7 separate regions of the Homo sapiens genome follow, and all the other regions are linked to region 5. The links are contacts of gene promoters, found by promoter capture Hi-C in blood cells and fetal thymus (Javierre and others, 2016). All regions are on one chromosome and are shown on one strand. The core of a region is centred on a gene start or on the middle of the fragment in contact, and the rest is flanking DNA. Distances in the headings are between cores, read along the strand shown. Region 1 overlaps CWC22 (CWC22 spliceosome associated protein). Region 2 has its middle 16 kb from the start of CWC22. Region 3 holds the start of ITPRID2 (ITPR interacting domain containing 2). Region 4 overlaps ITPRID2 (ITPR interacting domain containing 2). Region 5 holds the start of UBE2E3 (ubiquitin conjugating enzyme E2 E3). Region 6 has its middle 21 kb from the start of ITPRID2. Region 7 overlaps ITPRID2 (ITPR interacting domain containing 2).

What was found. The method cuts DNA at HindIII sites, captures the fragments that hold promoters and counts their contacts. A CHiCAGO score of 5 or more calls a contact.
Region 1: a contact is called between a fragment that was not itself captured here and the fragment with the promoter of UBE2E3 in region 5, in 1 of 17 cell types (monocytes). The highest score is 5.1, in monocytes.
Region 2: a fragment that was not itself captured here is called in contact with the fragment with the promoter of UBE2E3 in region 5 in 1 of 17 cell types (total B cells); the score reaches 6.4 in total B cells.
Region 3: the fragment with the promoter of ITPRID2 here is called in contact with the fragment with the promoter of UBE2E3 in region 5 in 12 of 17 cell types (fetal thymus, non-activated CD4 T cells, activated CD4 T cells and 9 more); the score reaches 19.6 in fetal thymus.
Region 4: a fragment that was not itself captured here is called in contact with the fragment with the promoter of UBE2E3 in region 5 in 2 of 17 cell types (fetal thymus and monocytes); the score reaches 6.8 in fetal thymus.
Region 6: a contact is called between a fragment that was not itself captured here and the fragment with the promoter of UBE2E3 in region 5, in 1 of 17 cell types (total B cells). The highest score is 6.5, in total B cells.
Region 7: a contact is called between a fragment that was not itself captured here and the fragment with the promoter of UBE2E3 in region 5, in 5 of 17 cell types (monocytes, fetal thymus, total CD4 T cells and 2 more). The highest score is 8.5, in monocytes.

Annotation. Positions count from the first base shown.
Region 1 is chr2:179,979,912-179,983,594 of GRCh38, reverse strand. CWC22 (CWC22 spliceosome associated protein) reads left to right here. Exons shown (of 20, transcript NM_020943.3): 5 at 1,598-1,843. Among named protein-coding and RNA genes, the nearest start is that of CWC22, 26 kb to the left of the region's middle. The HindIII fragment of the contact is 1,916 bases long and covers 958-2,873 here.
Region 2 is chr2:180,021,286-180,024,963 of GRCh38, reverse strand. No RefSeq gene overlaps it. Among named protein-coding and RNA genes, the nearest start is that of CWC22, 16 kb to the right of the region's middle. The HindIII fragment of the contact is 1,491 bases long and covers 907-2,397 here.
Region 3 is chr2:181,890,451-181,893,984 of GRCh38, reverse strand. It overlaps ITPRID2 (ITPR interacting domain containing 2), which reads right to left and starts at 2,255. Exons shown (of 18, transcript NM_001130445.3): 1 at 1,708-2,255; 2 at 1,325-1,370. The coding sequence starts at 1,918. RefSeq lists silencers at 1,619-1,758, 2,049-2,378. The HindIII fragment of the contact is 2,528 bases long and covers 108-2,635 here.
Region 4 is chr2:181,906,058-181,909,255 of GRCh38, reverse strand. All of the region lies in intron 8 of ITPRID2 (ITPR interacting domain containing 2), which reads right to left. Among named protein-coding and RNA genes, the nearest start is that of ITPRID2, 16 kb to the right of the region's middle. The HindIII fragment of the contact is 9,837 bases long and covers 1-3,198 here.
Region 5 is chr2:180,978,476-180,981,966 of GRCh38, reverse strand. UBE2E3 (ubiquitin conjugating enzyme E2 E3) reads right to left here and starts at 1,362. Exons shown (of 6, transcript NM_006357.4): 1 at 994-1,362. UBE2E3-DT (UBE2E3 divergent transcript) reads left to right here and starts at 955. Exons shown (of 2, transcript NR_187176.1): 1 at 955-1,901; 2 at 2,301-3,491. RefSeq lists a silencer at 1,085-1,944. The HindIII fragment of the contact is 2,197 bases long and covers 55-2,251 here.
Region 6 is chr2:181,869,434-181,872,682 of GRCh38, reverse strand. No RefSeq gene overlaps it. Among named protein-coding and RNA genes, the nearest start is that of ITPRID2, 21 kb to the left of the region's middle. The HindIII fragment of the contact is 2,698 bases long and covers 1-2,615 here.
Region 7 is chr2:181,927,082-181,930,433 of GRCh38, reverse strand. ITPRID2 (ITPR interacting domain containing 2) reads right to left here. Exons shown (of 18, transcript NM_001130445.3): 17 at 2,156-2,273; 18 at 1-873. The coding sequence ends at 2,169. Among named protein-coding and RNA genes, the nearest start is that of ITPRID2, 37 kb to the right of the region's middle. The HindIII fragment of the contact is 1,969 bases long and covers 933-2,901 here.

The DNA of each region.
Region 1 (3,683 bases), core at 666-3,165, 1.0 Mb after region 5:
TATAAAGACACATGCATGTGTATATTTATCACAGCACTATTGACAATAGCAAAGCCATAGAATCTACCTAAATGCCCATCAGTGATATACTGGATAAAGGAAATGTCGTACTTATACACCATGGAATACTATGCAGCCATAAAAAAGAATGAGATTATGTTCTTTGCAGGGACATGGATGGAGCTAGAGGCCATTATCCTTAACAAACTAACACAGGAACTGAAAACCAAATACCACATGTTCTCATTTATAAGTGGGAGCTAAATTATGAGAACACATTAACACATGGAGAACAACACACACTGGGGCCTTATGGAGGGTGAAGGGAGAGTGGAGGGTGGGAGGAGGAAGAGGATCACGAAAAACAGCTAATGAATACTAGGTTTAATATTTGGGTGGTAAAATAATCTATACAACAAACCCCCATGACACAAGTTTACCTATGTAATAAACCTGCACTTGTACCCCTGAACTTAAAATAAAAGTAAACAAATGAACAAAAAAAATCTGTTCCTCCACAGCTACCTGGGAAGATGACTGCTTTTCAATCTCCGTGTAGGTTTTATTACTATATATTTAAAAGACCATCTCAAACATACTCCTTAGATTTAGCTAAAATCTATACCACAGTTTCCTGGTAATGCAGTGATAATATGAAATTTACTTTTATTTACTATATTATATATAACTCATGGTTACCCAAAACACAAACAGAATGATCTGGGTTTCCAAGGCAGTATATGTAAAAAGCAGCTCAGTGGATAAACTTTGCTCTGGGGAAAGATAGCAAAAAGCAAGAATTCGCTCTTTCCCGTTAGTTCTTGATGGTTTCAGAGAACTGTACCTTGATTGTTTTAAAAGCCTCAGCTTAAGAAAGGATAATCAGGTACGTTAGTAGGGAAGACATTGTGGCTAGAAAAGTTTTTCCCCCCACATTGTCTCAAATAAGCAGAAGCTTCCAATATTCTGAGATTTCTAATGAAAATATTAGTTCTATCAAGAAACAACTTCAAATATTATATTCTATAGTAGTCTTACAACTAAAGTAACCACTATTGGAGATTAACTCTGGTTTCTTCTCCTTTATACAATTTGTCATATACACCACAGGCTAATTTGTCTTCTTAAAACACTCTTTTCATGCCACTCTCCTACTGAGAAACTTTTAATGATTCCCCATCACCTCCAGTATAAAAACCTTAAAGTCTTTACATATGTTTTAAGATTTTAGTCTAACTCTAATTCATCTTTCCAACAACCATGACACATAATCCTTTGTTTCCTGATTGTCCTACTCATTCTGACCTTAACACCCCTGCTCAGTCTTTCAATAATTATTCCCTCTTCTACTAGTTGCAAAATGTCATCCTTCGTCTCCCCTTCCTCCTGCCGACTTGCCCCCAGTCTAAATCCTGTCAAGCCTTCAGGACCTAATTTGTTGAATTTTCTCTGTGAAACACTTTGTCACCATTCTAAACCACTTTTCCTAGTCTGAATTTGTGGGACCCACTTATGGTCTCACTCATTTGTGTGCAGTTAATTGCTAAGAGTGTGTTTTATATTGTCTTTTCTGCTCTTCAAAAAATTTATATTACAGAAACAGGGACCGAGAAAAACGCAGAGAAAGAGAAAGAGATACGGATCGGAAAAGGTCTCGGAAATCCCCATCTCCTGGGAGGAGAAACCCAGAAACATCAGTAACTCAGAGTTCCTCTGCTCAGGATGAACCTGCTACAAAGAAAAAGAAAGATGAGCTGGATCCTCTTCTTACTCGCACTGGTGGAGCATATATTCCCCCTGCAAAGCTCAGGATGATGCAGGAACAGATTACAGATAAAAACAGGCATGTTTATATCAATCAGTATACAAAGCCATGAAATTGTCATTGAAAAATAAGTCAACTGTGGTTTAATTAACCCTGGTTCTTGAGAATTTACGTTAGTCTATAGTGATAGAGACCTCAAATTAGAGACCTCTTTACTTTATAGCTCCATTGGAGAGCCACACACTACGTGCCCTTATATTAGCACATTACTTCTTTTTTCTTTTTTTTGCATGAATGAATTAAAAAGTTTGAGGAAAAGATTGCTTACCCTTTTTATAGTATGTTCAAACTATTGTTCCTTTCATAGTTTCATGGATGCATTCCTATTGATAATGTCTGTTTTTTGTAGAAAAGAGTAATACTGACATTTTAGTTCTAAAATTGACTTTTCCTGTTGTAAACCAGGAGTCAGCAAACTTTTTCTGTAAAAGCCCACACTGTAAATATTTTACACTGTGAGTCATTTTGTCTCTGTTGTTGCTACTTAACTCCGCTCTTGAAATGTGAAAATAGTCATAGGCATTGTGTAGAAAATTATAAGCATGGCTGTGTTCCAATAAAGCATTATTTACAAAAGCAGGTGGTCAGCTGCATTTGGCTCATGGGTGTAGTTTGCCAACCTCTGTACTTACCTATAAAACTGAAGCTGGCAATTATCTCTTTTTGTACATTTTCTTCAGATCATGATCTATTAGACTATACATTTTTGCTACTCTAAGGCAGACAGACAAAATTTATATATGAACAATCACACTTAAAACACTCCTCCTTCCCTTTTCAGAATAATTGAGATGGTGAGGAGCTATTTAGGAAAGTACAGCTAAGTTTTTAAGATATTTTTCTCTAATAGGATGAGTTGATAACTAGGGAATGTATGGTCCCAGATTGAAATGATTATTCAGTTGCCAGATAACTAGTTAAAAGATTGGGATAGAAGGTATTAATAGTTATAATTTAAGAAAAACAGATGCAAGGTGAGCCAGACAGGAATATTTCCACATCTTTTCATGAGTGTTTTAGTAGCAATTTGAAAAGTGCTTGAGAAGCTTATTTAAGTTAAATCTAAATTTGTTTCAAGGATTAGCTTGAAGTAGAAACGTCATGATCCGCCCACCTCGGCCTCCCAAAGTTCGAGACCAGCCTGGCCAATATAGTGAAACCCTGTCTCTACTAAAAATACAAAAATTAGCCAGGCGTGGTGGTGGGTGCCTGTAGTCCCAGCTACTCGGGAGGCTGAGGCAGAAGAATGGCATGAACCCAGGAGGCGGAGCTTGCAGTGAGCCGAGATCGCACCACTGCACTCCAGCCTGGGCAACAGAGAGAGACTCTGCCTCAAAAAAAAAAAAAAAATAAGAAATGTCATTTATCTAAAAGAAGCTATGAAGATTTGAAATAAATTAAAACCGAATTTAAGAGCCAGAAAGGGGTATTTGGTGACATTAAATTCAAAACTAATAAGTTTTTCTTTATGTGTCATATTTTAGCGCTTGGCAGTGATATTTGAAGTGTTAGGTTGAAAAGGAATTTGGAGATGGCTTCTGTGGTTAGTAGGACCTTCATTATCATGTAAACGTTTTGCTCATGCACAAGGCAGTAGTGGCAGCATTACTGAAAGGTATTCACTTTCTCCAGTCCAGTCCAAAGCAATCCTGATTGTAAAAGACTAGAAACTTTGTCAGTCCAAGTCTTGCTTCCTTTTAAATAAAGCACACAGGAGAGTCAGCAATACATGCAATTTAAAGCAGATTCCTTTAAGATAATTTTATATACAGTTGAAGTCTGTTCGTAGGCTGTAAAGGGTACAAGGAGAAGTAGACATCTGTAAGAGAAGGCCATAGTCTTTGCTTTCAGTAGATAC
Region 2 (3,678 bases), core at 403-2,902, 960 kb after region 5:
GGAACTTATTATAAGGAAACATGGAAGGACATATAAAATTAAATCTAGAAAATCATAAAGAACTAAACCTTTATCTGACTGTCTCTGGTTCCCACATCCCCCCTGGCAGCATGTAATATTTTGTCTTTATTCCTTTTTGCATGTCTATTTTATTCTGCTTCCTCTAGAGATTGGCTTTTTATATTGTCTATATAACCTGTAGAGAATGACTATCTCACTGTCCCCAAGTTTGCATGTTCCTCCAAGTCTATCTAGTCTTCTTTTCTGCCCAATTCCAAGTTAACAGAAGAATGTAGTTGTATCAGCTTGGGACTAGTGCCTACCTCTGTCTCAAACTATAGTCCCAACCACTGTGTCACACAGATCAAACGTGGTTGTCGGAGGGCAGGAAGAATACAGTAATTATAGAAATCTGGTCATTGCAACCTTAATCACTTAAAAAAGTGTAAAATCTGTCTTTCCACACTCTCCCTCTTTCATCATTTGCATACAGACGTACTATACTCCAACTGTCCGCTTCTTCAATCTCACCATCCCCATACTGTAGGCAAACAAGGACTGAGGTATTGAAATTGATGTAATTGTTCCCTCATATCCTTCAGCTTCTAGCTGCATGGAAGGCATCCTCTCTAAGAACCCTTAAATTATTATGAGTAAATCTAGTTTTGGGGTAGATTTCCAGGTTTTCATTGTAGTAGGATTGCCAAATTAAATACAGAATGCCCAGTTAAATTGGGATTTCAGACAAATTTTTTTAGTATAAAGTTGTTCCAAATATTGTGTGAGACATACTAAACATTTTTGTCGTTTACCCCAAATTAAAATGTGAGTGTCCTATACTTTTATTTGTTAAATTTGACAATGTTAATCTGTAAAAACTGTTCTTTTTACTCAGCTTCAGAAGCTTCTTCCTGTAATTTCCTTACTCTTCAGTGATACTATTCTTCTCATCTTTTTCTAGAATGCCTGGATTCCACAGGCTCAAATGCTGCTTGCTCAGAACAAAAGTTATAGAACTCCTAGAGTTCAGTAGTCATGCCCTTCCAAAGAGGTTCCCTAGCAGGCCATCCCTGTTCTTTCACTTTGCTGCCATGATCCAGGGCTTGCTTTATTTTCCCTCAGGGGCCAGGCCCCCACCCCAAACCCAAACCAGCCAATATTATCATAATTTCTACAGAGATAACACTCGTTCATAAAGAAAACAGAACAGATTTCTTTCTCCTTGTCTCAAGCATTTCCATACACAGTTTCTCCTTTGCTTTGCAAAGGAGAAAGGAGGCGGCTTCCCTCTTACACTGAGATGGGATAGGATCCAGGGATTCCATCCCATCAGACTGAAGAGGTTAGTTCAAATGTCATTCCATCTCTGCGGGGCCACTTTCACTTCCCCAGTGCCATTCCACCAACAGCCTTTGCTGCAATGCTGGAAGGCCTTTGGTTTACTACATTGGTATTATAAGACTCTAACAGCTGATTCTGCACCACAAATCAATCATCCTGAATGGAAGCTCTCAAATGTAACCCCAGCATCATGCTCCTTTTTCTGGAATGGGAGTACCATTCCTAACAAAATACATTGAGAATCCAGGCAAATGTTCAAGAAATGCTTTACTTCCAGCAAAACAATAAATTCCAACTCACCTAGAGCTCATGAGCTGGTAGAATTAAGGAGTGGTTTTCCTAGTTTATTCAATGTGTTAGAGAAAGTGAAGGTGTTTACTCACGAGAACAGGCTATTATGAAAAGACATGGTAACTGATACTTGTCTTCAGAGATCAGACACTCAGTTGTCTCCTTAGAAAAGGAGACTTGGACCCAATGCAGAATAAAAGTTACTGGGATATGAATTTGATTCATTATCTTCCTCACCTTTTTCTACCCTGAAATACTAATCCAGGAATTGTGATACAAACTATAATGAGGGTTTGTTGGATGTAGTTCAGTATAGGTGAAATCAGATTGAAATTTGTGTTTCTTGTTCTACGTGTGGCAGGATATTTATATTTGAGGAAAGACAGCTCTTTAGTAAAAATGCATTTCCTGGGCTTTCAGGTTATGCAAAGCAAAGGAGAAACTGGCTATGGAAATGCTTGAGACAAGGAGAAAGAAATCTGTTCTGTTTTCTTTATGAACAAGTGTTATCTATGTAGAAATTATGATGATATTGGCTGGTTTGGGGTTGGAGTGGGGGCCCGGCTCCTGAGGGAAAATAAAGCAAACCCTGGATCACGGCAGCAAAGTGAAACAAAGAACAGGGATGGGCTGCTAGGGAACCTCTTTGGAAGGGCATGACTATTGAACTCTAGGAGAAACGGTGCCTCTTTGTTTTAGGATTTCCTTTTTTGAATTATAGTCTCATATATGCTTATCTATGCATATATCATCTCATAATAAGCTTGAGTAAAGTTTTTATAAAATGCTACAGCTGTGCTATAGGCAATTAAAGGTTAGGAGTCATGCCAATCTTTGAGGCATAACTAAAGTAGAAAGCAAACAGCAACCAGATGAAGTGTTTACAAGATGATAATAGGTGATGACTAGAAAAGTCAGAAACAGTCTTTTTGTGGAGAAAAGTGAGCAACAACCAGCTAAAAATAGTATGCTCATATTTATTGAGCCAGACATTTTTGAACTAACATGTTCTAAACATTTTCACAGATTATCTCATATAATCTAGGGAATATTATTATTCCTGCTTTAAAGGTAGGAAAACAGGTAAAAAAAAAAATGCTAAATAACTTGATCAAGATCAAACGGGGCAGTAAGTGGCAGAGCCAAGGTACATATTCTGGCCGCCTTGCCTCAGAGTCAGTAACCTCAACCAACATAATATCCTGTGTACATGCCCTCCCACCCCCCGCGATGTGGGTGTGATATCACCCTCTCCCCCACTGGATATTACGAACCACCTCGCGTGGCGGCGGGCGGTGTACATCCCCTCCCTCGCGATGTGGGGAGTGATATCAGCCTCTCCCCCCACCCGGATATTATGGACCACCACCCCCCGCGAGGTTGTTCGTAATATCCAGGGTGAGAGAGGGTGATATCACTCCCCACATCGCGGCGGGGGGTATTATACACCGACCCCGCGAAGTGGTTTGTAATATCCGGGGGGCGGGGTGGGAGTGTGATATTACTCCCCAAATCATGGGGAAGTAGGGTGTATACCCCCGACCACGATATGGTTTGTAATATCCAGGGGGGAGAGGGCAATATTACTCCCCACATTGTGAGGGAGTGTGCAGTCCTTTGCAATACCTACCTTGGAATTAGGAGTAAACTTATCCTAGAATATTTTGAATAATTTCACCGGGTGTACACCTACTGTGACATTAGGAGTAACATCTCCCTACAATATTATGAATAATATCACAAGGTGTAAACCCACCGCGACATTAGATGTAATATCTCAGTAGGATATTATGAATAATATAACTGGGGCTGTACCCTGTGTGGTATTAGAAGTAACATCTCCCTTGGATAATACAAATAATAACAATTAATAATTATAATAATAATGTTTAATATGATATTATTCATAATATGCTAGGGGAATATTATTCCTAAAGTCACAGTGTGTGTACACCATGTGTGTACACCCTGTGGTATTATTCGTAGTATCCTAGAAAAATGTTACTCCTAATGTCACAGTGGGTGTACACCATGTGTGTACACTCT
Region 3 (3,534 bases), core at 1,006-3,505, 910 kb before region 5:
TACAAAACAACTTCTCAAACACATTTCTAAGTGGAAACCTGAAAGATACTAGTTTTATCAGATCTCACCCAAAAGGTCTTGAACATGTACATTCAAAATTTCAAGCTTTTACATTATAGACTATTTTAGTATTTAACAATTAAATGAACCAATAGCACATTAATACAATTTCTTGATCCATACTTTGAGTGAAGTATCTAATATCTAAGGCTTATCTGAAAACTGGGAGATTGATTTACAGCTAGATTGTAAATCTGGGGTCCAAGGACTTCAAGCAGTGTATTTGCCTCTGTGCATCTTTAAACAGAAGTTATTCCATATATGTCATCATATTTCAGAAGGGTCTATGACACTTCCAATAAAGGGTACGAGTTCTGTAATAAAGAGTGTTCAATAAGGTTCCAGTCGATTCATCAAAACAAGGCATTAATATCATGGTAGCCAATATCTTGTCTGTCTTTAGAGGAGGCAAACTGGCATATGAATCACTTTCCACAACAAAACAAAACAAACTACCCTAACTCTAATATTTGAACAAAATATTAAGAAAATCTAAATTGAGAAAGCAAAAATATGCTCGAAAGCAAACACCAACAAAAGTTTAAAGGCTACATTCCTGATTTTACAACTAGCAAAGTGGAATAAGAAACAAGTACATTTTGCTGTAGTCAGATTTACGTGCAACATGATTCATCTCCTCTGTATTTTATCAAACATTTTTGTACCAGTTGCCAAAGCATGTAATTAAACAGATTTATGCAGTCTGAATGCTTTTAAAAGTTCTATTCCCTGAGAATTCCAGTGCCATCTGACAATTCCATGTTCAAGAAGTAAACTATAAGTACAAAGTTAGCTAGTTTTAATAGCTCCCCAAACAGAAACAAAATTAAAGCCCATTTAGTGTAGTTAGGTAAATTAAACTCGTCTAAAACACATTTGAAAGGAAAATGATTCCGTGCCAGTTGTACAGATGCCAAAACTAAAGCAAAACAAAATATCCTGTTCGAGATGTGAGAATTCTTTCAAATAAAAACAGAACAAATATGGCATGATTATCTGTTCTGGATTTCTGATCTCTGATGCTAACACGATGCGTGAGTAGCTCAAGTCCTAACTGTAAAGTCAACACGGTCACCAAATAATCAGCGGTCACAGCACTTCCATTTCTAATCGCTTAGAGGAGGAAGCTATCCGCCGGCTCACTTTCCGGTTTGTAGCTTACAACGGTCGCGGGACCCACAGGGACGCGGCCCGAGTGGCTCTGCTCCGGCGTCCCGTCCGCACGGATCTCCCCCGGGACGCGGGCGGACCAGGGAGCACTCACCGGCAGTCCTTGAGCCATATCGCGATCTTCTCGTTGGGCACGTTTCCTGGGGGTAGAGAGAGGGGACAGCACGTTACCACCCAGGAGCACTACGACGGCGGAGTCACCCTGGACCCTCCCAAGTAGGAAAATCTACCACGGCAAATGCAGCCTAAGCGACACGTCTCAGTGTCCCTTGGCAGGGAAATCGGATGGCACCCAGTTGTCTGTGTTGACGCTGGGGGCGCCTCGTTCAGCGCGCGCGTTTGAAGGTCGGAAGTGTCCCCTCTCCCCTCGGCCTACCGTGCCCGAGGCTCTCCCAGAACTCGTGGCAGGCGCCCAGGGCGCACGAGACTCTCCCCAGCCCACCAGCCTCCCCCCGGAGCCCGGCCGGGAGCACCGACCTCTTCCCCCCGCTGCCGGCAGCTGCGCGCCGGGGAGGTCCTCCTCCTCGTCCTCCTCCTCGTCCTGCGTCGTCGCTTCTGTGGACAGATCCTCCGTCTCCGACGCTTGCCAGGAGCTGCGGCACTTGGCCCAGGCCTTCCTCCTGCGACTCGCCACTTGCCACTCCAGTTCCTCCTCCGCCTCCGCCGACGACGACAGGGGCCGGTCCATGGCCGCACTGGGGGCTCCGCTACCCCAGCCGGACCCTGCGCGAGACAAGGCGGCGGCAGGGACCCCCGCCCTTGCTGTCAGCGCCCGGCCGGGCAGGGGGCCCCGGGGAGCTGAAGCGGGCGCCGGAGGAGGAGGAGGAGGAGGAGGGGACAGGGAGGGAGGGAGGGAAGGAAGGGGAGGGAAGGGGCGGAGGGCCGGCGCTTCACATGAAGGCGGCCGGGCGCGCGCGGGAGCGCTAGTGGCCCGAGGGAGCGCGGCTGGGAGCCGAGCGCCCGCCCGGCCCCTGCTCCCCACCCCCTGCCTGACGCGCCCGGAGCAGGCCGGCCGCTGCGCGTCTGCGCGCCTTCCCTCGGCGGCGGCCCACGCCCCCTTCCGGCCGGGGCCGCGCGGGGCGCGGTAGGGCGGGGCGCGCCCGGCGCGACGCGGAGCAGGCCAGCCCCCGACTACTGCCCGCGGAATGGGCAAGATTAGTTTGTTAATAATCTTTCCTCCTCTCCTCCTCCTCCTCCCTCACCTAAAAATAGAACGTAAGTGGGGAGGCCAAGTCTCACAAAACATCCCCCGCGAGAAAACAAGTGTCTGCTTGGGCACCCTGAAACATACACTTGAAAGAGTCGCCTGAATATAGACTCTTTAGTGTCCAAGGAATTGGGGTAAGGACGGAAAGAGGTGCTTGATTGGTGTTGCCAAAATGTAAAAACTGCAAAAGACTAAGCTTCCTGGAGTGCTACTTTCATACTTAAAGTTATTTATCGTGTTTATGTTATGAATGAAAATGAATTGTGAAAGGATATTTAATCTGGAAATTTCACATTGAAGTTGGACTTTGGTGAGGGAGAATAGAGGAAACAATTGGGACAATGTGGAGATAGTTGCTTGGATTTTGGTGAGACAGCATGATACAAGAAACAAATGATGTCAGGGTTCAAAACTTTTTAAAGCCAGCTTTGGCATTCCGTTTTGTTATGTTTAAATTCTCATTAGCAAAAATACTCAAATTCTATCCAAAACCAGACACAATGTGACAGACCTATCAAGCAGCATTGTTCCCCTAAATGTTACATCTGAACTATACATATAAGTAAGGCTTCCAATATTTTATTGTACTTGGCTATGCTCTGAAGAACAAGTTAGAACACTTTTTAAAATCTTAACGTGATTGAAAAGAATATTTTGCGTAGACAAAATATTTTAAGGAAGGAATTATTTTTCATTTGAAATTAAAATCCAGAGCATAGTAAAATTCCTAATGGAAGCATTCGAATTACAAGGTAATTAAGTGCATTGTCATTGATAGCTACAGGAAACCATAACTTTTGGAGAATTTGGAATGAAGAATGCTCTGGAGATGAAATAGTGCCTAGTTTTTGTCCAGGCATTTACACATAAGTCATAGACTACTAAAATAGCACACTGATTTTCCTGCCTTCATTCTTTCCTATCTCCTTTCTAGCGCATTGCTCTAGATTTACAATTCCAAGACATCTTCTAATGGTTTACTAATATCCCCAAGATCAAATCCAAAATCCAGACTAGCTTTCCAGAACCATCATAATATTCTCCTGAGTCTCATCTATGTACTGCCAAATGTCAGGGGAGTTAGAACAGTGATATTA
Region 4 (3,198 bases), core at 218-2,717, 930 kb before region 5:
GAAATTCTTTCAAGACATAACTTGGGAGCTGTATGTGGAAAAGCAGGTTTCATTACAGAACTAAAATAATGAAAGATATTAACCATAAATCTTCCCTGAAAACACTGTTCAAAGAACATATCAAACTTAGTTGTCTTTTTGTGTTTATTTTTCTATCTGCACAAGTACATAATTTAGAAATTTTCAGATTCCTAAATCACCACCTCCACCCCACAAACACTCTGTCTATTCTAACATAATTAACTCTATGTCAACATTAAATACATAGGGAATGGGCAAGATGCACGGTAATTTCTGTCACTTTACTCTGTAATGATTGGTTCTTAAATCATAAAGAACATCCTAGTAAAGTGTGGTACCTAGCTGAACATATGGGTTTTCAACCTTGAAAAAAAAAATCAAAGCGCTAATAGTTAACACATTTTAGGGAAAACTCTGGTAGTTTTTAGTTATGAAGCTATTCAAGAATAAGAAATATTCCAAAGGAATAAGAGTGAAATAACCAACATTTTTAAAAGCCCAAAGGTTAAAGATAGTATTACCCAATTTAAAATTTGCTCTAATTTGTGATTTCTTTGCTCTACATAGCTCCAGGAACCGAAGTTTATGAATCTTTTGAAAACTGAAAGCACACTACTCATGCAAAACCATCACCTGTAGATCAGATATATAAAAATAGATTCTACTATTCTTTGTTATCTTGTTAAAATTAGAATAATTCTTCAAAGCAGCAGATACATGTTCAACAGGAAAACCATTGTCTTGTATGCAAGGGAACAATGTGCGTTTTCTTTTTATATTCAATAAAATGTCTATTATTAGCTTCTATTCAGGCTCGGTCTACTTCAAGTATCTTTCTGTAAAGTAAATATCAACCAGATCAAAAAATTATAGCAGAATTCCAATGCCTCTGCATTTATGTTCTAGGAATACTGGCTCAGGCACAGCATTAATATACCAAATCTCTCACTGTCATGTTTTTTTTAAATTTAATCTATTTATTTATTTTGAGACTGGGTTATGAGACTGGGTAATTTTTGTATTTTTGGTAGAGATGGGGTTTCACCATGTTGCCCAGGCTGGGGTCTCAAACTCCTGGGCTCAAGCGATCCACCTGCCACAGCCTTCCAAGTGCTGGGATTAAAGGTGTGAGCCGCCGCACCCGGCTGCTCACCTTTAAACACAGAATTATCACATATTCTATTTCCTTAGACTTATGAAATTAATCACAAAATAACATGACTTTAATAAACACATATCATCAGCATTCTATTCTTCAAGATGCTACTCAATGGCAAAAACAAATCTACTCTCTCCTTTTACTACAAACTCCATAATTAAGTGCAAGAAAGGAGCACTTCAAAAAGCTGAGACAGTCACATTTTACTAATAAAACTAAAGTTGGGATTCTTCTTGTTTACTCAGCAAAATCAGAGTACCCACTTGCTGAAGAGAGAAACATACATGCTAGTGATAATGGGTGAATTTCTTATTTTATTATTGGTCACAATTGTGCAAAAGGCGGCAGTCAAATTTGAGATGGGGTACACCACAGAGAATTATGAAGCAAATATAGAACACAGAATTTAGATTTATGTGACAAGATTTTCCCTATTCAGTGGTTTCAAATGCTCCGTAGAATTCTGGTCATTTGCTATAAGCAGCCTTTCATAATTAACAAGAATAGCCAAATAAAACTGAATTAGAATGATGAGTAATGGGTGTTCATGATATTATTTTCTCTAATCTTCAAGTAAGTTTGAAACTTTTCATAACAAAACTGTTTCATAATATAAAAAAAAAAAAAAACCACTAAACCAAAGTGATAAAATTGCATGGTCTCAATGTTTTGGGATTCAAAGATGAAAAACAGCTTTAGAATAACCCACACATTTGGGTTACTTCATTTAAAAAAGTTTTCATGAAACAATGACTGTATCTTTCTAAATCAATGTTCTGCTAAAATGACAGGCACTCACTTTGGTTTCTTTCTCTTGTTTAAAAAATGTACTTTTTGTTTCAGTGAACCACTTTGGTTTCTTAACAGCTGTCATGTTTACCTTGACTAAGAGGGATCTTCTAGGCACAATACTACTGTATTGTATTGCACAGGACAGCAATACATGGATGTTCTAACTCAAATAACCCTTCCTCTAAAGTTTAAAAAGAGACTGTATAGCTGTCATCATTGAATAAACATTGTATATCAAAATGGTTTTCAAAGAAAATCAAAACTAGAGCTTTAGAAATTACAATTCTGTCTAATTTTTAATGACAGCTCAAAAAAATGTCAGAGGAAATCATTCTTTTTCCAAAGTAGTAGCATGGTGCTGTGCATCAGATGATTAGTTCTTGTACAATGCCTGACCATACCAACATATCTGACCTTCACCAAGTTGTATAGTATAGTCACAAGTAACGTGAATTCAAGTCTTATTCATGCCACTTACTGGCTAACGGCCTCTGACAATTATCTGCGATAAATATCCGTATTTTTTTTTTTTATTTCATTTTTTTGAAACAAGGTCTCGTTCTGTTGCCCAGGCTGGAGTGCAGTGGTGGAATCATGGCTCACTGCAGCCTCAACTGCCTGGGCTCAAGTGATTCTCCCACCTCAGCCTTTGGAGAAGTGGGACTACAGACATGCACCACCATGCACGGCTAATTTTAAAACTATTTGTAGAGACAAGTCATGCTATGTTGTCCAGGCTGGTCTCTAACTTCTGGGCTCAAGTGATCCTCCTGCCTCAGCCTCCACACAGTGCTGGGATTACAGGTGTGAATCACCATGCTCAGCCTCAAAATTAAAATTAACAGCAAAATTAAAATTAAAATTTCTACCTCATAGGTCCTTGGGGTGATCAAATGTAACTGTAAGTCAAAGTACTTTCAAACAGTAAAGTAGTAAGAATGTACAACAGGAGATCCTCCTCTGCCATCCTCCACTGACACCCGCTGTGCTCCTTCCCCCTGTGAAGCACTGATATCAAAAGGAATATTATAGCCCTCAGAAAGATGGTGAAGAACCACTGCTATAAAACAATATCAAATGAGGGAGGGGATGCTTCCTCATTTGTAAAGGGAAGAAACTAGAAAATGAATAAAGTATCTCTTTCCGTACTAGTTTATGATTCTATAAATTACTTGCAAATGTTTATCTTAAACAAATACTATCGAGTTTTACACATACACACAAAA
Region 5 (3,491 bases), core at 113-2,612:
AAACCAACAGCATTTTCTTCTAGTCATCTAAAATCGTCTTGTAATGAAAAAGCTTCAAAAGTGTTCACACTTATTTCATCGTACAACAGGGGTACGTACAAGGGAGGTGATGTGTCACACAACGCCAGCGTTAAGGGATTTGCCGAACTCAAGTTAGAAAACCCACTCACATTTTTTTCCGTCTCTTGGACAATCTATCAATTGTCTACTTTCTCAGAAGGCATGAAACAGATTTGCCAAGGAACTTAGGCAACAAGCATTAATAACATATGACACACTGTAAATAACAGATCTCGCTGAAAAATGTTTAAAAGTCACTAATAACGTCTAAATATTTACACACTGACATTGGTCAAAGCTACCAAATTCCCTTTCCGAGAGGAAAACACACCCTGTTAATCGCCCATATGCTTATTTAAGGTGGCGATTCCTCCTCAGTGCACGTAAAGCCTTTAAACACAACACTTGGAAATTTAAAAATCAACTAACGAGCTGCTCTAGCTGTTTCCACGGCCAGCAGCGAAGATTCATCCGGCCAAGACCGAGCTGCCACCCTGGGAAAAGCAGAATTCAAACTGCACCTTCTGCAAAGCTCCCAATGCCACCAAGGTTCCTCGCTCAATTTTTATATCACGGACCGACATTTTGTCCAAAATAACGAAAAAAATAAGAAACCCAGAGAAAAAACAAACAAATAAACAAAGCCCCAAGAAGTGCAACAAATTTCCGCGCCCGCGGAGGCGAGCCACGGCCGGCGGCGGCGGCCACGCAGCTCCGCGGCCCTTTGTGGGGAGGGCCGCGCGGGGGCCGCGGGTAGCGCTCGCCGCGCCGGGCGCCAAGTGATGCGAGCAGCCCAGCCGGCCCCGCCGCGGCTCGCGGACACCGGCGACGCGGGCGCCCGGCGCGAACAAAGCTGCCCGCCCCCGCCCCCTCCCCCACCGCCGCCGCCGCCCCGGCCGCCCCCCACGCGGCCCCCCGGCCCCGCCGCCTTACCTCGGCCGCCCGCCCGGCCCGCTCGCGCGCCGCTACGGTGTGGGGGAGGGAGAGAGAAAAAAACCCTTCCTTAAGGAAATGGAGGCAGCTGTGGGGGGGGGAAGGGGGGGGAGGGAAAAAAAGAAGCCGAGGAGGCTCTGGCCGGGGAGTGTGGAACATTGAAAGTCGGAGGGGGTTGTGCAGTGCCGGGCTCCGGCCGGAGGGTGGCGCCGCCCAGCGCCTTCGGAAAAAAGCGGGGGTGGGAGCTCGGCTGGGCGAGGGCGCGAGCTCCCGGCGAGGCGGAGGGGACGCGGGAGACCCCCGCGCGCTGTAGCCTCCCGCCGCCGCCGCCCGGCTCGGCTCCTCCCGGCCGCGCAGTCAGCAAGTTCCGAGGCGAGCGCGGGGGGGAGGGGCGGGCGCGGCGGCGACGCGCGTGCTCGCTGCTTGCCTGGCGGAGGGGCGCGCGCCGCCGACGCCCGGCGGGCGCGAGCTGTTCCCGCGCGCTCCCGTGCGCGCTCTCCACACCTCCCCTCACCCTGGGGGTGCACGCGTCCGCCCGCGCGCGGCCAGGACAAAGAGCGCGGCGGGGACCCGGCGGGCTGGCCCCTGCCGCCCTTGGCCGCGGAGCCTGTGCCAGAGAAGGCGGGGGCGCGGGCACCGTATCGCGGGGCCGCTGTGCCGCGGGGTGGCTTCCGGCCTGGGCCCGCCTCCGGGGCGAGGCTGCCCATTGGGCTACCCGCGTCCCCAGGGCTGGTTCCATCCCATCCGCCTGCGCGGGGGCCGTCGTGGCTCCCGGGGCCCCAGTACCTGGGCAAGGGCCCTGGGCGCGTGGTTGGGAGTCCCCCGCCGCCCCGGGAGACGGGAGACTAATGGGTGTTGTTGACGAGGCCAGGCACGCAGGCGGAGAAGAGCTGCCACTTGCCCCTCGCGTAAGCTGGAGGAAGGGACAAGTTGGGGTCCTGGGAATTGAAGAGGGTAGAATGTATTTGGAGATTAGGGGAACAACCTCTATTTCTTTTTGGCTCATAGCTTGCAACTGTCGCTGCCAAAGGGAAGTGTCCTTCGGATTATTTGAAACCTTAAAAATCCAAAACAGTGTTTAAAATGTCCCGCTCAACATTCTTAAAAGTGAAGGAGAAGAGTTTGGGGTTGGGGGGTGGCGATGAGAGCTAAAACATGACACTTTTCTGCGGGACTCTTCTGTCTTGCACATGAGGAGCCAGTTCTGGAAAGAAAAGTTCTGAGTGATGTTGAGTCAGAATGTCCACCCAGAAAAGCTTTAGGTGGAGATAGTGACAGTTTTGTTTGTTCTACCATTCTTTTTGCAGTCTCCAGGTGGACTCTGCGGTTTTTACCCCACGGCACAAAGTAGCCAGAATACAAAAACTTCCTGTTTGCCACCCAGGCCTTCTCCAGCTACTGAGAACTTGTTCCGGTGATGGAGCCTCAAAGGAATTTGTGGATTCCTCTCCCACAAGTGTCCAGGGGCAGGGGTGCTGTGAGAATGTGCAGTTCACAAAGGGAGTGAGAATGGCAGTCAAAAGATGTATAGAGTTAAGGGAAAGAAGAAAAGACTGAGTGAGCCAACGTATTTGCTTACTATTTCTCCTAATAGAAAACTTTTGGTAAAGGCTTGATAGCAACTCTAAAGAGTAAGTTACATTTCCATAATTTTCCAAAGACACAGTCATTCAGTTAACTTTATTGAGGGCTATATGTTGCTAGGTGCTGGACATACACTCATTCAATTGCTGTGTGACTAAAGCCAGGTCTCTACTCTGTGCTAAGAGCTCCTAGTCCAGAAGGGGAACAGTTCATTAAAGTTCGCTAGGTTCATAAGTAGTAAGGATATTCCACTCAGAATGAACAGATAGAATATCTCATGCCTCAAAAAAGATCATGGTCTGTGTGTGGACAAGCATTTTGATTTGGCTGGGTCAAAGAGTGCTTGTGGGAAAAGCTTGTTAGTGAAAATAAAAGCAGAATTTTCCCCCAGCTTTACACGATGTGATGTTACAGCAAAAGCCAGCCAATTTGGAGTTGAAGCTTTGCTTTGTTTGGAATGGGGAGACAGAAAAGGAAAGCTGTACGTTAAACATGGGTTCTTTTAGGAAATTTAAGAACAGAAATAGCCTGAAGGCCCAAAGGCCAATTGCTGATAGGATTTAGTGGGGTAAGGAGCTTAGGGGAGAAAGATATTTAGTTGTTTGGTAACATCTTCTACAGAAGAAATAGTATTGGGTTGAAAAGCCAGGGAAGTGTATTCTAATCCTCATTCTACGAAGTTCATATGACCTCAGGCAAGTTAAGTTATTTCAATTACTTTTATGTAAAAGGAGATTGTATCAAAGGTTCTAAGTCCTCTCCTGCTCAAAAATTCCATGATTCCGTGATTCTTTGGCGAACTTGAAGTCATGGAGTTTAACTTAACATTCACCCAACAGAATATTTAGGATCTACTAACTGCTTGGGAAACTGGAGTGAAACATGGGTCATGCTCTTAACCAAGCTCAATTGTG
Region 6 (3,249 bases), core at 17-2,516, 890 kb before region 5:
AGGTCAATATTTTTTCTTATGTTTCCTTAGAAAAAAATGTTTTATAATGTTTGATAAAAATAAGAATCTAGGATTGATTAACAATTTGAAAAATTGTGTTTCATTTGTATTCTGGTTTGTGGATTACCTTTTATCAGTAAATTTCAGTTTTGAAAGTTCTACTTTGAGGTAGCATTTTTTAAGTAACCAAAGTTAGTATTCAATATTCTTGACTTCTAAACTTCTGTATAACTTCAAGGATGCAAGCAGTGTAACATAGTTTTCCTACATAGAAACAATCTGGTATAAATATCATTCAGATATTTGCTTTGGCATGTGTTCACTTAACAGAATGTGTGAAGAAATACACAAACCCAGTGTCAGGCAAATACCACTAAAAAGTACTACCACTCCAGTTAATAAAATATATTGGTGAAATTGGGACATTTCAGTTTGGCTATATTTAAAAACTATTTCTATGTTGCACCGGTTCATTTGTAAATGGAAAAAAAAAGGCAGGCAAAAAACAGTAAGTTCCACTTGATTCAGGCAACCTGTTAAATAAACTGTTGCTACTTTTAACTGCAGCATACTTTAATGTGACTGCCAACATCTATAAATTTTTTAGAATGCCTGGTTTTCTCATCAGATCAACTTGACTCAGCTATCAATAAAAAAGTGCCATATTCGGCTTGATCACAACAACTGTTGATACTGCTGCTAGTTTTTTTACCAAAATATTCCAGTTTACAAAATAGACTTATAATGTGAAAATCTCAATAGAAAAGCCAAGTCATCTACATGTGTGTATTTGTATATATGTGTGTATGCATATATATAATTTTATAAATATTTATTGTTAAAGTCATTTCTAATGAATTAAACTTTAGAAATAAATTGTACATATAACTTACAAAATTTAGTGACATTTAACACAGTGCACTTATTATTGAAAACTTATATAAATAATTTAAATATGCTTAAATTGAGAATATTCAGAATTTCGTTCTTTTTTGAATGTTTTCAACTCAAAGAAATGATTCATGTTTGAAATAACGAATATGCTAATGACTCTTATTTGATCATTACACATTGTACACACGTATTGAAATATCACACTTAGCCCATAAATATGTACAATTTTGTGTCAATTAAAAATAATACTTTAAAATATTCAGTCCATGTAAATTTTTCCCATTCATTAAAGTGTTGTGTTACCTTTCGTACAAGATGATTTACCTAACTTAATAGGAATTGAGTACTAAGATTTGATACCCAGAAACTTGCACACTAATTAGGACCATAATAAGGAACTGCAGTATAAGCCAATTATCATCTTAGAGATATAGGCATTGCTTTAAAATCACGTTTTTGAATGTGAAAAACCATTTGAGATCTGAGGTGAATCAAAGGGGAACTTTTTTGCCTGGAAAAGCAATGAGGAATTCCTGGTCACATTTACTCTCCCTCCTCCCATACATACATCAACCATCTTTAAAAGCACTATAATAAAAAAAAAAAAGATTTGACGGGAAGTATGATTTTGATTAGGGAAAGTCTGAAGGCGAGGGGAACGGTAAAGAAGTTAGATAAGAAAGAAAGGGAGCTATTGGGCTTTTCTGTATATTATGAAAGTATGTTTATTCTTAGAGGAATATAGCTATAAAGCTACTGAATCCATTGAGGCATAAGTGGGAGTGCAGCTAGGACAAATAGGATGTAATGTTTTTATTTTGGCTCCATTCAACTCTGTCTCAATTGACCATTCCTTGAGAGAAGAGTAGCTAAGCATCAAATAATGGAGAATGTCAAATAAGATTTTCTCTCAAACTGTATCAGTGCCTTGGATTTAGTAGCTCATCAATATTTTGTTTGGCTTAATTAATCTGAAAGTTATAAGAAAAACATGAGTAAATTAAAGATGATGCTCAGAAGATACTACACATACAAGTTTCTGGAATAGATGCCACCCATAAACACTTGAATATAATTGCTGTTGATAAGGCCCACAAGAATAGAAAGGCCATGAAAGGAAAGTTGAAAATTGGTTGTGTATTCCTTTTTAGAAAGATGTTGACTTTGTGGCTTTAAGGAAAAGAACCCAGTATTTTTAAATAACTCAAATACATCAAAATAAAAACCAAAAGAAAAGCATCCTGGTGGTTAAAATGTTGCAGTTTCATTTTTTGAAAATCTAACTTTACATTCGTGTACCATTTATCTATCTCAGTTCTTTCTTTTATGCTCCAAATCAAATTTTCCTCAAATTTCTAGTAATAATAAAGAAAAGTCTGTTTTTTCCAATTTCTCCAAAGTTAAGTATTTTAAGGGGAGAAAGGCAAGAGGCAAACCTTGTCATTTGAAATTATTATGTGCCCCTACTAGAAAATATAGATTTAGTTCATTTTATGTTCAACTGGTGAGAATTTATTATCCTTGGTACAATTTTATATATCATAGAAGTGTAGCACATCTACTCTGAAGATGATGTTTCTAAAGAAAGAGCCAGACGTTTGCGTTCAAGTTTAAAACCTCCTGAAATGAAAAAGATGCCCAAAAGTAAGGTTAAATTAGCCTTACTGCATATTCTAAGGCTACAGGAACTGTTTGGTAATTGTTTCTATGAAGAACAAGCTTAGTGCAAGCTAACCTAAAGTATCAATATGAATAGAATTGCAAGCCATACTAAATTAGAATAGTATTAGTTTAAGTTTAAAATGAGACTTTTTTGGAATACTTCATGCTAGTTATATTGTTATCAACAAACCAAAATTCTTCTAATTATTTTGTTCACATGCATTTTCTGATATGCCTTTATTGTAAAATATCAACATTAAATGCTATGAAATTCTATTTCATCTCTTGCAGTATGCAGATTTCTCACAGAAAATGTACATATAACGTGGCACATAAATTTTGACATCATAAAGTGAGAAAAATAATTTTAAATTGGTGTCTTAAAATACAATTCTTAAGAAAAAACTTATGTATAACAGGGTCAGGGTCAGAAATTTTTTTTCATAAGAGGTCAGGTAGCAACTTTTTTTTTTTATTTTTGAGAAGGAATCTTGCTCTGTCACCCAGGCTGGAGTGCAGTGGCGGGATCTCAGCTCACTGCAAGCTCCGCCTCCTGGGTTCATGCCATTCTCCTGCCTCAGCCTCCTGAGTAGCTGGGACTACAGGCACCCGCCATCATGCCCGGCTAATTTTTTATTTTTTATTTTTATTAGAGACAGGTTTCACCGTGTTAGCCAGGATGGTCTCAATCTC
Region 7 (3,352 bases), core at 668-3,167, 950 kb before region 5:
AAACTGAACTAAAATCATTTTATGTATGAGGAGAACAAATCTAAATTACTTCCATTTTGAAAAAACAAACACCAGCTTATTCATTTCTATTCATTCAAGTCATAGGCCCCATTATTTGGATGATACTCTATTTAGTCTAGAAGACAGAAAAAGAAACATCTCCATCTAATAAAGAAGTCTGGACAATGCAAAAAGTAAAAGTACATAGTGTTTAACATAAGGCACATTTCCAAAAGAAAAATACTACATAAGCAATGATAAAATTACATTTGTCTTGGGTAAAGCAACAAGGCTTACAGTGTAAGTACATTAAGTAGTTGTAGGTAACCTCATAAAATTCTATCCTACTGCTATTAGTAACCTCCCCAAGAATTAAGAGCAATTATATTTTTTACAACAGAACAGTTTTTCTTCTTGGAAGTGACATTAATTAACAGCAGTGGAGGGAAAAATCATTGGATGCTTCAAGCTCTGAAAAAAATGAATCAGTTATTGCACAGTAAATACCTCATAGAGGTCAGTGTTTTAAGATGTTAGTCTGAAGAAATATGTTATTTATAAGTTGGATAAGTCTGGAAGTCTTCAAGTTTTAAAATTAATTCTAATAGGGAATCAAATGAAAAATACTGACATACAAATAAATATTAGGCTTTTCAAACTGCTAGAGTTTTTGATAGTTTAGAAAAGAAATAGCAAAGTGCCTAAGTTTCTATGTACGTCTTTTTAAAATATATGGTTGAAGAAATACACATTGTACACTGTATACAGTAGCCCAGCTCAACAGCAAGTATCTTCTAAAGCACAAATAACACCTCCACCAGTGCATATCATTGATAATTCCAGTATTACACAGCTAATAGGATCCATGCCAACCTTAAAAAAGAAAAGAGAAGTCAGTTTTAAACCTCTTTCAAATACTGTTATTAAAAGCTTCTTTAAAGGAAGATGAGAATTTTATGCAAATATATATACACAGAAACATGATTATCCTGTAATCTCTATACATCTTCCTGAGAGTTAATTCTTATATCCCTGGCTTTAAAAAAAATAATTCCTATTAATTGCTTTGTGACATAATTTATTAAAATACTTTCCAATTTCCTATATCTGAAATTGTATATTATACTTTTCAAATTACATTTGTTTCTCATGTCTTATTCAATGAATATTTTTAGTTCTATTCTACTCAACTTATTCTTTCTTTTTGCATTCACCAAGAATTATTATTAATATATATTATATAAAATGAAGTTAGAGCTAAAGCAGGAGGATCGCTTGAGGCTAGGAGTTTAAGACTAGCGTGGGCAACATAGCAAGACCCCATCTCTACAAAAAAATTTTTTAATGTAATTAGAGCTACGAGATAAAATGAAAGTAATTCGTTTTACTAAGACAGACATATAAAAGAGTTTTTTGAAATAAATTATTATTAGAAATGAATCTATGGGATATGTTTCTTTAAAAGATAAAAATAATTAGGAAAGATACTTAGAAGTTGTGATTAATTCGGCCGGGCGCGGTGGCTCACGCCTGTAATCCCAGCACTTTGGGAGGCCGAGGCGGGCGGATCACGAGGTCAGGAGATCGAGACCATCCCGGCTAAAACGGTGAAACCCCGTCTCTACTAAAAAATACAAAAAATTAGCCGGGCGTAGTGGCTGGCGCCTGTAGTCCCAGCTACTTGGGAGGCTGAGGCAGGAGAATGGCGTGAACCCGGGAGGCGGAGCTTGCAGTGAGCCGAGATCCCGCCACTGCACTCCAGCCTGGGCGACAGAGCGAGACTCTGTCTCAAAAAAAAAAAAAAGGAAGTTGTGATTAATTCACAAAATCTTGTTCTTTAAAACTATACATCTGAAATACCATTATAATCAAAATAAGATTCAGGTTTGAAGGTCCAATTCCAGGATTTATTACTATAATGAAATTTCAGTAGAATGACCCAATATAAGTAATTCCTTGGAGATTTGTATTATGGGATTTGACTTACACTTCAAATAGGCTTGTGTGAAATTTTCACATTGTAAAATAACATATTACATACATTCTAAAACTCAAAATTTAACTAGAGAACCAAACCTGTATACTAACAAAACAAAGAATAAAATGCCAGTTACTATTTACATTTAGCTCAACAAAGAAACTCAGAAAAATTTACCTATAATTTCTGTTTAATGATAATCTTGCTTAGAATTAGACGCTTTACTTGAAGATACTGCTGCCAAAAGTCCACTTACAATTTCCCGTCTGATTTCCCCAACAATAGACTCTTTAATCTAGATTGGAAAAACAATAAAACAAAAATTTACCAATATGAATGGAATTCATTTTTTCCTGTTTTTGGAAAAAATACAAATAGCATTCAATTTCTTAATTTCACCTTCATGTGAATCTCCCTGCAATACAGAGAGGGAGTGGGGAATCGAGTCCATCTATCATCCAACCCAGATCAGACTCCCAAGGACTGGTCTAGAATTGTTCAGCTAACTAGATTACAAATATCACAATTCATAAGGTGAGGACATTAGAAAATGTTATTTCATAAGTTAAAAAACTTCTAGTAAATACTTTACCTCATGTCAAAAAAATAATCTGGAAGGACTTCTTAAATGTTTTTAGTATTGTCTAACTTTGTAAGGTAATCAGCAGAGACACAAGTGCTCTCATTGCTGAGAAAATCTTTTAGAGGCAAAATAGTATACAGGTATACTGCCTGTTTATGCCAACTGACAGCAAGGTATCTAAAGACATATTGTTCAACCTAACACATTTAAAATGGGAAGAAGAAATTATCATTTAGTACAATTTATTTTATAATATAAAAAACATCCTCAAAACAACCATAAACTCTAAAGAAATAACTTTTTCTTTAGTTGCATGGTATCACTGCCAGCCATCTAAGCTTTTGTTTCCAATATGCATATAGGATATGAGGATATACATCTCATTTTATTGTTGGAAAAGGCAAACAGACCTGAGGAAATGACAATTCCATCAGGATTTTCTTCTACAGGTGTCCAAACACTTACATATGCCTATCTCCACCTTTTCTCTCTAATGATACAGCATCACTTTTAAATAGCCCTTTGTGAAAGCTATAAATGTGTATTTCCTGAAATAAAGTGATAATGTGTTCCCAAATAAGCACTCAAGATACTCTCAACAAGCTTTTAAAAATTCTACATTTCCAGTTTCCTGTCAGCCAAATTGATTTATTTCCTACAATGTTCCTAAGTACATCTCAAACACATCTTAACTATAATCTTTCCAAAAATGGTCCTGTATTAGTCTATCATGCAAAATTGGTACACAATACATAGATTTATACATAGTTATTTAAAGAAACAAAACACTC